Regions from separate parts of the Homo sapiens genome. Here regions 1, 2 and 4 are each linked to region 3. Evidence: promoter capture Hi-C in 16 types of primary human blood cells and fetal thymus (Javierre and others, 2016). All regions are on one chromosome and are shown on one strand. Each heading gives the region's core, a stretch centred on a gene start or on the middle of the fragment in contact. The rest is flanking DNA. Distances are from core to core; before and after follow the strand shown.

The links. Contacts are between HindIII fragments. The CHiCAGO score rates a contact against its expected background, and 5 or more counts as called.
Region 1: a fragment that was not itself captured here is called in contact with the fragment with the promoter of SPPL2A in region 3 in 5 of 17 cell types (total B cells, activated CD4 T cells, naive CD4 T cells and 2 more); the score reaches 8.3 in total B cells.
Region 2: a fragment that was not itself captured here is called in contact with the fragment with the promoter of SPPL2A in region 3 in 1 of 17 cell types (naive CD8 T cells); the score reaches 7.5 in naive CD8 T cells.
Region 4: a contact is called between a fragment that was not itself captured here and the fragment with the promoter of SPPL2A in region 3, in 3 of 17 cell types (naive CD8 T cells, non-activated CD4 T cells and total B cells). The highest score is 6.9, in naive CD8 T cells.

Annotation. Positions count from the first base shown.
Region 1 is chr15:48,877,076-48,880,062 of GRCh38, reverse strand. All of the region lies in intron 4 of SHC4 (SHC adaptor protein 4), which reads left to right. EID1 (EP300 interacting inhibitor of differentiation 1) reads right to left here and starts at 1,929. Exons shown (of 1, transcript NM_014335.3): 1 at 1-1,929. The coding sequence starts at 1,886. The coding sequence ends at 1,323. RefSeq lists enhancers at 1,675-1,974, 2,245-2,354. The HindIII fragment of the contact is 1,047 bases long and covers 872-1,918 here.
Region 2 is chr15:48,803,368-48,806,067 of GRCh38, reverse strand. It overlaps CEP152 (centrosomal protein 152), which reads left to right. Exons shown (of 27, transcript NM_001194998.2): 2 at 412-505. The coding sequence starts at 419. Among named protein-coding and RNA genes, the nearest start is that of CEP152, 6.4 kb to the left of the region's middle. The HindIII fragment of the contact is 2,862 bases long and covers 1-2,700 here.
Region 3 is chr15:50,764,352-50,767,051 of GRCh38, reverse strand. SPPL2A (signal peptide peptidase like 2A) reads left to right here and starts at 1,346. Exons shown (of 15, transcript NM_032802.4): 1 at 1,346-1,584. The coding sequence starts at 1,519. RefSeq lists a silencer at 1,312-1,771. The HindIII fragment of the contact is 3,596 bases long and covers 1-2,479 here.
Region 4 is chr15:49,621,898-49,624,812 of GRCh38, reverse strand. The region is part of intron 1 of DTWD1 (DTW motif tRNA-uridine aminocarboxypropyltransferase 1); the gene reads right to left. Among named protein-coding and RNA genes, the nearest start is that of DTWD1, 2.3 kb to the right of the region's middle. The HindIII fragment of the contact is 493 bases long and covers 1,390-1,882 here.

The sequences.
Region 1 (2,987 bases), core at 146-2,645, 1.9 Mb after region 3:
TGATGTAATCATTACTCTCCTAGAACTTCAGCATCTTAGTAAGGTAACCACGGCAACATACTCATTGATAGGGCAGGTTTTCCCAGACCAGCAAATTCTTATAGGCAAAAACTTAATTTACAAAGTTTAATTTCCAGAAATTAATTTGTGAATTAGATAGCTGAAGCTGGATCATTTTCCCTTAATACTGGTTAACACATACAATAGAAAGTAGTATACAGAGAAAGTATGTATGCAATACTATTAGCCAAACAAAATACACAGAACAAGAAATTTTATTATCTCCAATGCTGGTGCATGACAAATAACAAGCTTAATTAGAGGAGGAGACAGAGGGAAACTTCAGATACCAAGGTAATTTCTGGGCAGGTTTAAAACCTTTAAAAGTTGATAGAATAACTGTTCATAAAGTCTTTTTAGATATAGCGCTTTTTACTTGACAACTTTTATTAACAGTTCTTACAATATGAAGTTCAACTAAAGTCCTTCATCTGTCAAGTTAAAACAGCAAGCAAAACAAAATTTCTCTAGTATATAACAGCATAAGCAATGGTTTGTTTTCTTTGTACATTCACACACATTTAGTGTCTAGATTTGAAACTTTTTAATTAAGGATGTCTTAATTTTTGACTTTTAAAAATGGTTATGACAATGGATTTTCTTGATTTATAGATCACAGTGGCTTTATAAATGATCAAGATACATGTACAAACAAAATTTCAGATGCTCTTGGAAACACATCTTAAGATACAAAGCACACGTGATACATATTTGAGTTTACTCATCCATTTATCTTACACTGAAAATGTAGCCTTTGATAACTGTGGCTTGACTAGATCACAAAATAGAATTTTCCAAGTTTTCTTAAGCTTTCAGTCCAAATAACTCAAAAGATATGTGTCCTAGTTGGATACATTTTTTTCTCATTATATAATTAGTATCAGTGGGCTTTTGTATTGGCAGTTTGTCTTGGTCATGACTTATTCTTGCAAAACCATCTTTACAGCAAACAAATATGAAAGATATTTTCCCCAATGCAAGGAAAATAATCTGGATCAATAACAAAGTCAAAGCCATAGGTGTTTTAGGACGTTCTTGATAATTGATTTCAACGGTCTTAAAATCTTTTTTCTTTTTCTTTAATGATTCTCTTCCTTTTTCACAACTGTGCAGTCACTGTCCTATTGTGTTCTATTCTGAAAAACAAATTTTTTTGAAGGTCAAGTTTTTCAATGGCACAAAACTATTTGGAATGAACCCAAAAGATAGCGGAAAGTTGGGTCCCTCCTCAAGTAGTTTCCTCCTCTTTTAACAGCATCTAACTACTCTCTATCAATAATCTCATCACAGCCGAGTTCTTCGGTCAGACGATTGACAACCATCAGTGAAAAAAGCTCTTCGATAAAAGCTAACTGATCAAACGGGGTCTTCTCATAATGCATCTGAAACCCGCCATCCAGGGCTGGTTCTCTTGTTCTCAGAAACATCTTGTCGGCTTCTTCAAGAGCGGCTGATACTCTGTAGCCGGCACCACTGAGCTGCTCCTCTTCGGGATAGTCGTAGTCGTCCTCCCAGTCATCAAATTCCTCGCCCTCGTCCTCGCTCTCGAAGTCTGCGCCCGCCACCTGGCCTGGCTGCTCCCCAGCGTTGGGCCCGTTAGCAAGGCTCCGTTTCCCCTCTGGCGCCGCCATTGGCTGGGCCTCCTCCTCCTCCATTGGGCCTTCCTCCTCGAGCTGTTGGGCCCCGCTGCGGGAGGGACGCAGGGATAGCTCCCGGCTCCCGCTGCCTACCTCCATCTGCGGAAGGTCACCCTCGCCAGGCATCACATCCATCTGCAGGTCACTGCTCTCTTCATACAGCTCGGACAACTCAGCCATTTCCGACATTGTGCAAACCGCTCAACCTCTAGGAAAAAGCTTCCAGCAAGACAGATGCTGCGCGGCCGTGCGTTCGTGCGCGTGCGCAAAGGCTGCGCGCTTGCGTAACCCCGCGCGCAGGCGTGGTCCTCAGGTACCGCCTCCTACTTGGCGCGCCACTGTGGTTGGAGTAGCTCAGTGTTTTCTCCGGGGTGTTGGCGTCGCCTTTTGAGCTACGTTTCCATCGATTCGAACTTCGTATCTAGGGACCCTGCATGCAAGAGCGTAACAGTTTCTGTGTTACTTAACCCTACTGCTGCTTGTAATGCTGCAAACCGGAAAATAACCTTACATGGCCTTCGTAACATTTAATGCTCCTTCCCCCCCTTCCTCTTCCCCTGGGCAATTTACCGATGTACTGATGACTTGTAAATCCACGTCTCCAAACCAGACAACATCCATAACCACAGATCAGCATATTAAGAACTAATCCATTTTGTCCTTTTAGTGTTTTCATTTAAAAAGTTAAATTCACAAACAACAGATATATTGTACTTTTTTTTTTTTTAGTTATAGTGAAGAAATACTTGGTCCCATTTCTTTTCGCCTGGGAGGTATCTTTCCACTATTAGCAATGCGGTGTGTATTCTTTGAATTCTTTTTATTTGCATTTACATGTATCTTTATGTATTGACAGCAAAATACTATTTTGTGTGTTTTTTAAAAACATGTTTTACCTGTTTTTACCTTCAACTTAAAAGCCTCAGGTTTTAAGTTGTATATACTTATATGAATTATATGACTGTGTATACTTACAGGATTCAAGCACATTTCATTTATTCTGCACTTTATTTCTATTATTATTACATTATAGTTATGTAGAATTATACAACTCACCATAATGTAGAATCAATGGGAGCCCTGAGCTTGTTTTCCTGCAACTAGATGGTCCCATCTGGGGGTGATGAGACACAGTGACACCCGAGGTGTGTTCCTTATGTCCGGTCTATTCTGTAATCTCATTTTGGTTGCTGTTACTGTGGAAAATCCTGCCTCACAAAGATAGGATGTTGAAAATGGAAGGAGGCTTTTCAGTACTTTTGTGGCAATCTCAGGATGTTCCGCCTTGAC
Region 2 (2,700 bases), core at 41-2,540, 2.0 Mb after region 3:
TTAAAAAAAAATGAAGCAATAGGGTACTGCCTGTGCCATGTTTAATATATCACATTTGAAGTTTTGTTTGAGCTTAAGATTTTTACATTTGGCACATTTCTAGTTTATTATTATTGTCATCTTATTTTTCATGTCGGCAAAAATCTTACTGTTTTATACTCTTCAGACCACTAGAAAGGTCTATTCATAGCTTTATTACCTATTTGCATGTTTTCTTTTCCATGAATTGCTGTCATATAGCTATTTTCGGTGAATCACCATTATTTTTATTGGCCATAACTGAGTTATACATATTTTCTCCCAGTCTGTTTCTGTCTTTTCACTTTGTGTATGTATGGCATCTCTTATGTAGTTTGTCCTGGGGAGATTTTATGTGGTGTCCAGAAACCAAACATCTTTCCCTTCCCACAGGAGGACCATGTCATTAGACTTTGGCAGTGTGGCACTACCAGTGCAAAATGAAGATGAAGAGTATGACGAAGAGGACTATGAAAGAGAGAAAGAGGTAAGTTGTTAAAAAAAAAAAAAAAAAGAGACACTAAACCCAATCTTTAACAAGTTTTATTTCTTGATCAAAATTGTATCATCTTGTGTCATTTTGAAGGGATTTGGATTTTTTAAAAAAAAAACAACCCTAAAATCTGCTTGCTATTTAGACTGAAAAGGTGAATAAGTGGAATGCTTCTGTTTTTGAGACAGGAATAAAACACAACTGTGAATAATACCATCAGATAAATGGTTAAATTTTTCTTTTCATTTAGGAGGTAATGGTTGGCTTTGGAAGTGGAAGGTTAGTTTCTAGGTGCTTGAAACATTGCCATGAACAAGTCTGACAAGGCTCTTTGCTTTGGGTAGTTTACATCCTAGTGGAGGCAGACAATAAACAAGTAAACAAGTGAGTAAAGTAATTTGAGTGAGTGATAATTTATCATTGATAAATGACAGGGAAACAAATTGGAGTGCTATGAAAGCAATTGATAGGGGATTGCTGTAGATGGGGTGGTGAGGGAGGGTCTGTGGGAGGAGGCAATATATGAGCTGAGACTTGACTCATGAGAAGGAACCAGCCATGCAGAAGCCTGAGGAAGAGCAGTCTACGCCAAAACACCAATGAGTGTAAGCTGGGAAGTTGGGAAGAGACCCCGTGTATGCCACAGATCATGTGGAGCGGCCAGAAGGCCATGGTATTGGGTATATATGAGCCAGTGTTGGGTGGTGGATGTGGGTGTCAGATCATGGAAAGCCATGATAAGGTGTTTGTATTTTATTCTAAGAACAATGGGAAGCCAGTGGAGGATTTTAAGCAGGGAAAATTGATATCATATTTTTGAAGATCTTTCAGAAGGCTGCATGGTGAATAGATTATAGAAGGAAAGGAATAAAAGGGAGAGACCATATTATTTATATGTAAAGTGTTTAGCAGAATTCTTGGCACATAGCAAATGTTCAGTAAATGGTGGCAATAGTAATAGCAGCAGTAATAGTGTTATTGGTGGAAGTCAATTTAGTTGTTTTGGTTGTTTTTAGTGTAAGTCAAATTTCTTGATTGTCTGTGATAAAAGGCTTCTTTTGTCCTGACGCTATTTTTTATATGACCCATTTTCTAACATGTAAAAAAGTCTTTTTTAATAGTTATTGTGGACCATGAGTATTAACAGGAAGCAAGGAATAGGGTCAGTTGACCATTGCTCATGTGGCTGGTGGTAGAATTAAGGCAGTGATAGAAAACTGGCAACTTGCTGGATTTGGTTCAGACAGGTATTGTTGGTTGCAGAGTGCTTTTAAAAAATTGAATCTGTATTTGAAGATGGGAAAATTTTATGCAGCACTGCAGAGTCTCTGGCTTATCTAAAAAACATCCAAAGCCCTGGCCACACCTGGCCTGTATTTGCACATGGCAGCAGGCGGGCTGGAACTGAGCAGTGGCTCTCCTTCCCCAGCTGGCCACAGTCCCCACTTCTCACACAGACATGGGCTTATGCACTCAGACCTGCCTGCTTCACTCTGGTAAATTCTCTGCCAGGGCCCTGAGGGCATTTGAGTTTATGACCCTGGTGAGGGTTTCCGGATTTTGGCAGGGCCCCTCACAACAATTGTGGCAAGGATGGGAATGAGGATTTTCTGTTACTTTGAACCTGCAGCATGAGGTATTCATGACTGGGCTTGGATAGTTGGCTGGGGTTTAGCCACTGGGATTCTTGAGAAGGTCAGTTTAAATAATCACTACTGTAAAGAAGAAAAAATATTTTGACAGGTGATTTTTCATTGAGAAATATATTAGAGAGATAGGTCTGCCAGTGTATTGTGTGGTTAAAATTTTAGAGGGGATACTAGTTAAGGAGGCAATTAATTCTAGATAATATAGAAAACAGCTATTTGGGATCACCTCTTTGATAGATTGTATGCTGGGATAGGGAATTTCAGGGGAAAAGTTGTTCTTGAAAGATCAAGTATCTAAGAATGAGTATTTCTAGCAGAGTGGAAGGATATATAGCTGAATTGACTCTAACATGATGATTATGGTTAAATTTGTAAAAAACTTCATGTTAATAAAAATATTTTTACTTTAAAAAATAATTGCTGCAAGGGAAAAAGTGAGATGAGAGGCTAGAGAGGTTCAAATTTTAGTAACAAACTTCGGAACTGTTCACAAATCTTCAGCTGTATGTATACTTTGTCACTACAAGTTAAAGTAATAAA
Region 3 (2,700 bases), core at 97-2,596:
GAGACCAGCCTGACCAACATGGTGAAACCCCGTCTCTACTAAAAATACAAAATTAGCCGGGTGTGGTGGCACGCGCCTGTAATCCCAGCTACTGGGGAGGCTGAGGCAGGAGAATTGCTTGAACCTGGGAGGCGGAGGTTGCAGTGTGCCGAGATTGCACCATCGCACTCCGGCCTGGGCAAGAAAAGCGAAACTCCGTCTCAAAAAAAAAAAAAAAAAAAAAAGAGAAAGGAAAAGAAAAGAAAGTGACTGGACAGGTACTTTAGATTGGGTATGTCAGGAAGTCCCGTCTGGGGAAGCGACATTGAAGCTGATAAGTGAATGTCAACAAGGCAGGCATTCTGAGCTTTGGAGAGAAGAGCACTCCAGCAGGGAGGACTACCAGAGCAAAGTCCGGGCGGCCCACCAGAGCAAAGGCCGGGAGGGCCAAAGGTCCGTGCGCCTTAAAGTGTGGGAAAGTAGTGAAGATGGGGAGACAGGAAGGCAGGGGCCAGATTTACCTTTGCAGGCTAGAGTAGAGTTTTGATTTTTTTTTTTTTTTTTTTTTGGAGACCGAGTCTCGCTCTGTCGCCCAGGTTGGAGTGCAGTGGCACAATCTCGGCTCACTGCAACCTCCGCCTACCCGGTTCAAGCGATTCTACTGCCTCCGCCTCCCGAGTAGCTGGGACGACAGGTGCGTGCCACCACGCCCAGCTAATTTTTTGTATTTTTAGTACAGACTTGGTTCCACCATGTTGGCCAGGATGGTCTCGATTTCTTGACCTTGTGATCCGCCCACCTCGGCCATCCAAATGCTGGTATTACAGGTGTGAGCCATCACACCCGGCCAAGTTTTTATTTTATTCCAAGTGTGATAGAGAGAGACATGATCTGACTTATATGTTTTGAAAGATGGCTCTGGGACTGTTATGTGGCTACTGGGCTGTCCGGAGGGGAAACTGAGACCCGTTTGGAGGAGAGGGAAGTTGGTGGCCTGGATAGAGTGGTGGCAGCAGTTCTGGAGAAAGTGGATGGATCTGGGTTATGTGGTGAGTCAGAGTGGCCAGGAACAAATGACAGGCAGATGAATTAGGGTGACCCTTAGATTTCTGGCTGCATGCAACACTCGGGTAGTTACTGGGGAACCGAGCAGACGCTCAGACACTTCCGAGCCTTGAGAAATCCGTTCTCCCGCCAGGCTTCGGTGTGAGTTAAAGTCGGGCAGCCGGAAAGCGACAGGCTCAGACCCGCAGCCGGTGGCCTCGTAGCGCCGGGACGCCGGGACGCCTGGATACCGGGAGAGCGCTGGGACTCTCCGAGCCCGGCGCGGGGGTTTCCGCATCTTACGGGCGGGGCCGGAAGAGGAAGTCGCGCTGCTGTGGCGGCCGCTGTAGCAGCGGCGGTCCAGTCGTAGCCCGGCCGCCCGCGCCTGTCCGGTCCGGTCCGGCCACGGAGGCAGCGCAGCGGCGGGACTCCGAGCCTACCCCGCCGAGTGAGCTGCGCCGCACCGTGCCGTCCCACCCGGCACCCACCAGTCCGATGGGGCCGCAGCGGCGGCTGTCCCCTGCCGGGGCCGCCCTACTCTGGGGCTTCCTGCTCCAGCTGGTAAGGGGGCGGGAAGGCGCGCAGGCCTCCCAGGGGCTGGGCGGGGCCGGGGCCAAGGCCGGGGCTCCCTTCCCCTACTCCTCGCCCGGCCTCCCCTCTGCCCGCACCTCCGCGGCCTGCTCTCGCACTCCTCTTTCCTCCCCTCCTCTTTCCATTACTCATCTCTTTCCTTCCACCCTCCTCTTTTCCACCCTCTTTCCCCCAACTTTCCCGCCCCCCACTCGGTTCCCGCCCATTGAAGTCTGGCGAAATACCTACCGCAAAAAGATCAGAGGAGCCCCTTAGGTTGCGTTGACCTTGATGCTTCTCGATAGTTGCTCACTGTCCCAGCATATTTAAAATTGACCTCTGGGTTTTATTGTCTAAGCCTTTCTTACCGCTTTTTACCCTTGGGAAGAAAAAAAAATTATACAAGGCGCCAGTATGTTTAGCGGTTCGAGGACTGCACTTTAATTGCACTAACACGGATGTCTTTTTAAAATTCCCTTCCCCCACTGTAGCTCCTGCTTCGCCTTAGGGCTCATTTGATTCTGTTATGAGGGTTTTTTTTTTTTGGAGGGGGGGTTTTAATAGCAGTAATTTAAAATAACTTTTAAAAGAAGACACCAAAATGTAATGCTTTTAGTGGTTTTCAGTTTTCTGCCTAATTTAAAGGGATGGGTGGGGAGCGTCGGTTAAATGTAAGTAAGAAATATGTGTTCATAGATTTGTTTTCATAGTCACAGAGAAGTAATAGTGTTTTAAAATTCAGCCTCAAGTAATTCGAGCTTCAGTGTGGGAGTGGGGTGTCAGGAACCCGGTGTTTCAGTTTTTGTTTCTAGTGACTTTTACTTAGGGAGTTTCAGGTTGGAAACTTACGCATGTTATTTATTACAGAATTGGTGTCGTGTAAGCTTGTTTCGTTCTATTAGAATGTGTGATTTCTTTGAAAGACTGTTTTGCTGACTCTCCAGTTTAAGGGGTTAGTATTAGTGAATACAAAAGTGTCTTTAATATTTATTGAAAAACCAAAATCTAAGCCAAAAAGTAAGTGCCTTTTGGTGTATTCATAACTTTGACAGGCAACATCAGGAACCTGAGAGAATGTATCTAAAAATTGCTGGGGGAGGGGAGTTC
Region 4 (2,915 bases), core at 387-2,886, 1.1 Mb after region 3:
ACAGGGATATATTCAACCCTGTTGGCTCTGACTTTGAATTGACATTAATGAAAAATAGAAGATTCTAGTGGAATTGGCAAAATTTAGTTGGTTATGTTCTAAAAGATATAACCCTCTCCAACTTAAACACACACTACATATGTGTGAGTGTGTCTGTGTACATGTGTGCATATACATATAAAACTTCATATCCAATAAAAAATAAGAGGCATCTACTACTCATTACAATTTGTAAAATATCCCATAAGGTAAAATATATTATCCTATAAATTTTAAAAATTTACAGAGTAACATTAATGTCCACTTACTCTAAGAATTTATGTTTTTTAAAAACATACATCATTCAGATTCTTTAGTACTAGAGAAAAATGGTAAAATAACTTTCCCACTTAATATTTTCTTCAAAGAAGGGTGATGGCTGCCAAAATTGCTATCTGTATACCCTGTAAGGAAGATATCTTTCAAGGGAGAAACAACACTGGTGCCCTATTGATTCGATATGCATTCCACAGCTGTAAAATAATTCTCTTATTATAAAGCCTTCTGGCATTGTGGTTTAACTACGAAGCTCCAGGCACTTTAAGTAGAAACAGGGACAAGAGAAATGCTGTGACTCCAGCAGGAAACATTTTGTGGTCTCCCAAACAGAAAGTGAACAAAAAGTCCAGAGAAACATAAAATACAACATAATTTGCTGAGAAGAAGTTAGTGGCACTAATTTAATTACTCATCAAATGAATTTTTCTTTTTCTTTTTTTTTTTAAGATTGTAAGTCCCAGTGAGTTTGAGATACAAATAAAGAGATACAAAAACGCCGGTTATAGTAGAAAAAGGCACTTGCCAAATGTACCCAAGGGGAAAAACAAAATACAGTAAATATTTTTGCTGTGTACTGATTACGCACAGATTTGCATTTTGGGTAAGAAAGCAGTATTTAAGAACAATGGTCCAATCCCTTGTTCCTGCCTCACAAATAGAAAATCTTACCTACTTCTGACTGCCACTCCAACTCACCTGCCTAAAAATGGCTTTGATCTTTGTGATCATGCCCTCAATGACTGAAAGTGCAGGATATTAAGATGCCCTCTTTTCTTGAGCCTCAGATTCTTTTAGGAATCACATGAAAATATTAAACCGCATCCCTAGAAAATGCATATACAGACACAATATTTTGCACACAATTTCAGGAGGTTTGGAGATCTCCTAGAGTCCATCTACGACCCAGGTAAGGAAGTTCCAAGCTTGGGAAGGGCCACGCATGGTGGCTCATGCCTATAATACTAGCATTTGGGAGGTTAAGGTGGGAGGATTACTTGAGCACAAGAGTTTGAGAACAGTCTGGACAACAAAGTGAGATCCCATCTCTAAAACAGAGAAAAAAAAAAAGCTTGGGAAGAGATCCTAATAGTCCCCAGAAATGAGAGTTGCAAATGCTCTGTTGGCGTCTCTTTGCTGCACATACGAAGCTAAGTTTCACCTAAACTCTCTTTGGGTTTGTCCTGGTGTTGCCTGAGGTTCTTACAGAGAAACATTTTGAGGCTTTAATAGTCCTGAGTTATTCAGATGATGGGATTCATCCTAAAAAATGAAATTTGATTGGAGTAGCTCAACCTGACTTCATTTCCCTGGGTAATGGAGTAGCTATTTAGTGGGAATGCATGTACCACTCAAAGGCCCAGGCATAGTGGGACTGAAAAATGTAGTTCCTGTGGATGTCATGAAAGTTACTGTGGTTGCCTGACATTTAACAGAAAACTACTGGTGAGTTTTTGGAGTTATCCTAGGGCACTGAAAGTGCATTCCTCCTAGAGATACCTCAGAAATATCACTTTGCAGTTCATGGACCTGCTATCCACATAACTAAATGGATATTAGTGAAGCTTTATATAAATAACCTTCCTCTAGAAAAATCAACCACCACAAATACCTGTAAGACAGTAAAAGAGAAATGTTTATGGCTCCACCTCTTAGTTCACCTATATACTCTCACTTATGGCTGAGGTGGCCACGTAGAAGAGGCCAGCAATTGTAAATCATGGGCAGCTCCCTCCAGTGGTCTCTGAAACTACATGATCAGGGCATCTGTCCTAACCGAGCCAACAGCCTGCCTCGACTGTGAGAAAATCATTGCAAATGATTTTATTGCAAATGGGGTTATTTAAAATTTTTAAAACATACTTGTTAACATCAAATATGTGCAAGGAAGTACAATTTGAGTCATGGGGGCTAAAAAGACTTAGAAAACATAAAGACTGTTCCTAAGGAACTAACAATTTTAACACCTTGATGGTGCGTCCATCATTCTGGAACTTAAGGCTAAAAATACATTAATTTTTTATTCCTCCTTCTACCCAATTTCCACCCCAAATTAATTATACTCACCAAGTTGCATCTACCTTGTATATAATCCTCTATCTTCACTCTCAAAGTCAGGATTCTAATTCAGTTCCTTATTAACTCATAGATGGGCCACAGCAATGTCTTAAACCTCTTTGAGTACTTATTATTAGTTCCACATATTTGACATGGAAAAATGCATTTATTGTGGAGGTACTTTAGTGAATCTATCCCCTCCAGCATTCAACTCTGTAAGAGCAGATTCCTTCCCTGATCTCACCTATTCCTGATTCTTATGCAACAGCAGGAACTCAACAAACACTTGTTAACTAAATCAAAACCATTCTGCAAAACACATCCAGTAAGCATCTCACTACTGAAGTATCTGACAAACTACCTTTATGGGCCGTCTGCAGCCTAGCACAAGTGGCAGGCTGGCAATTTTTTTTTCTCCAAAATAATAACAAAAAGCTTCTACCTCTTCCATTATTGTAAGCTGACTCACCTCCCAATGGAACACTATACAGACTCCCCTGTCCTATATTGTGGACCAATTCAGTATTAGAAAAAAACCACTT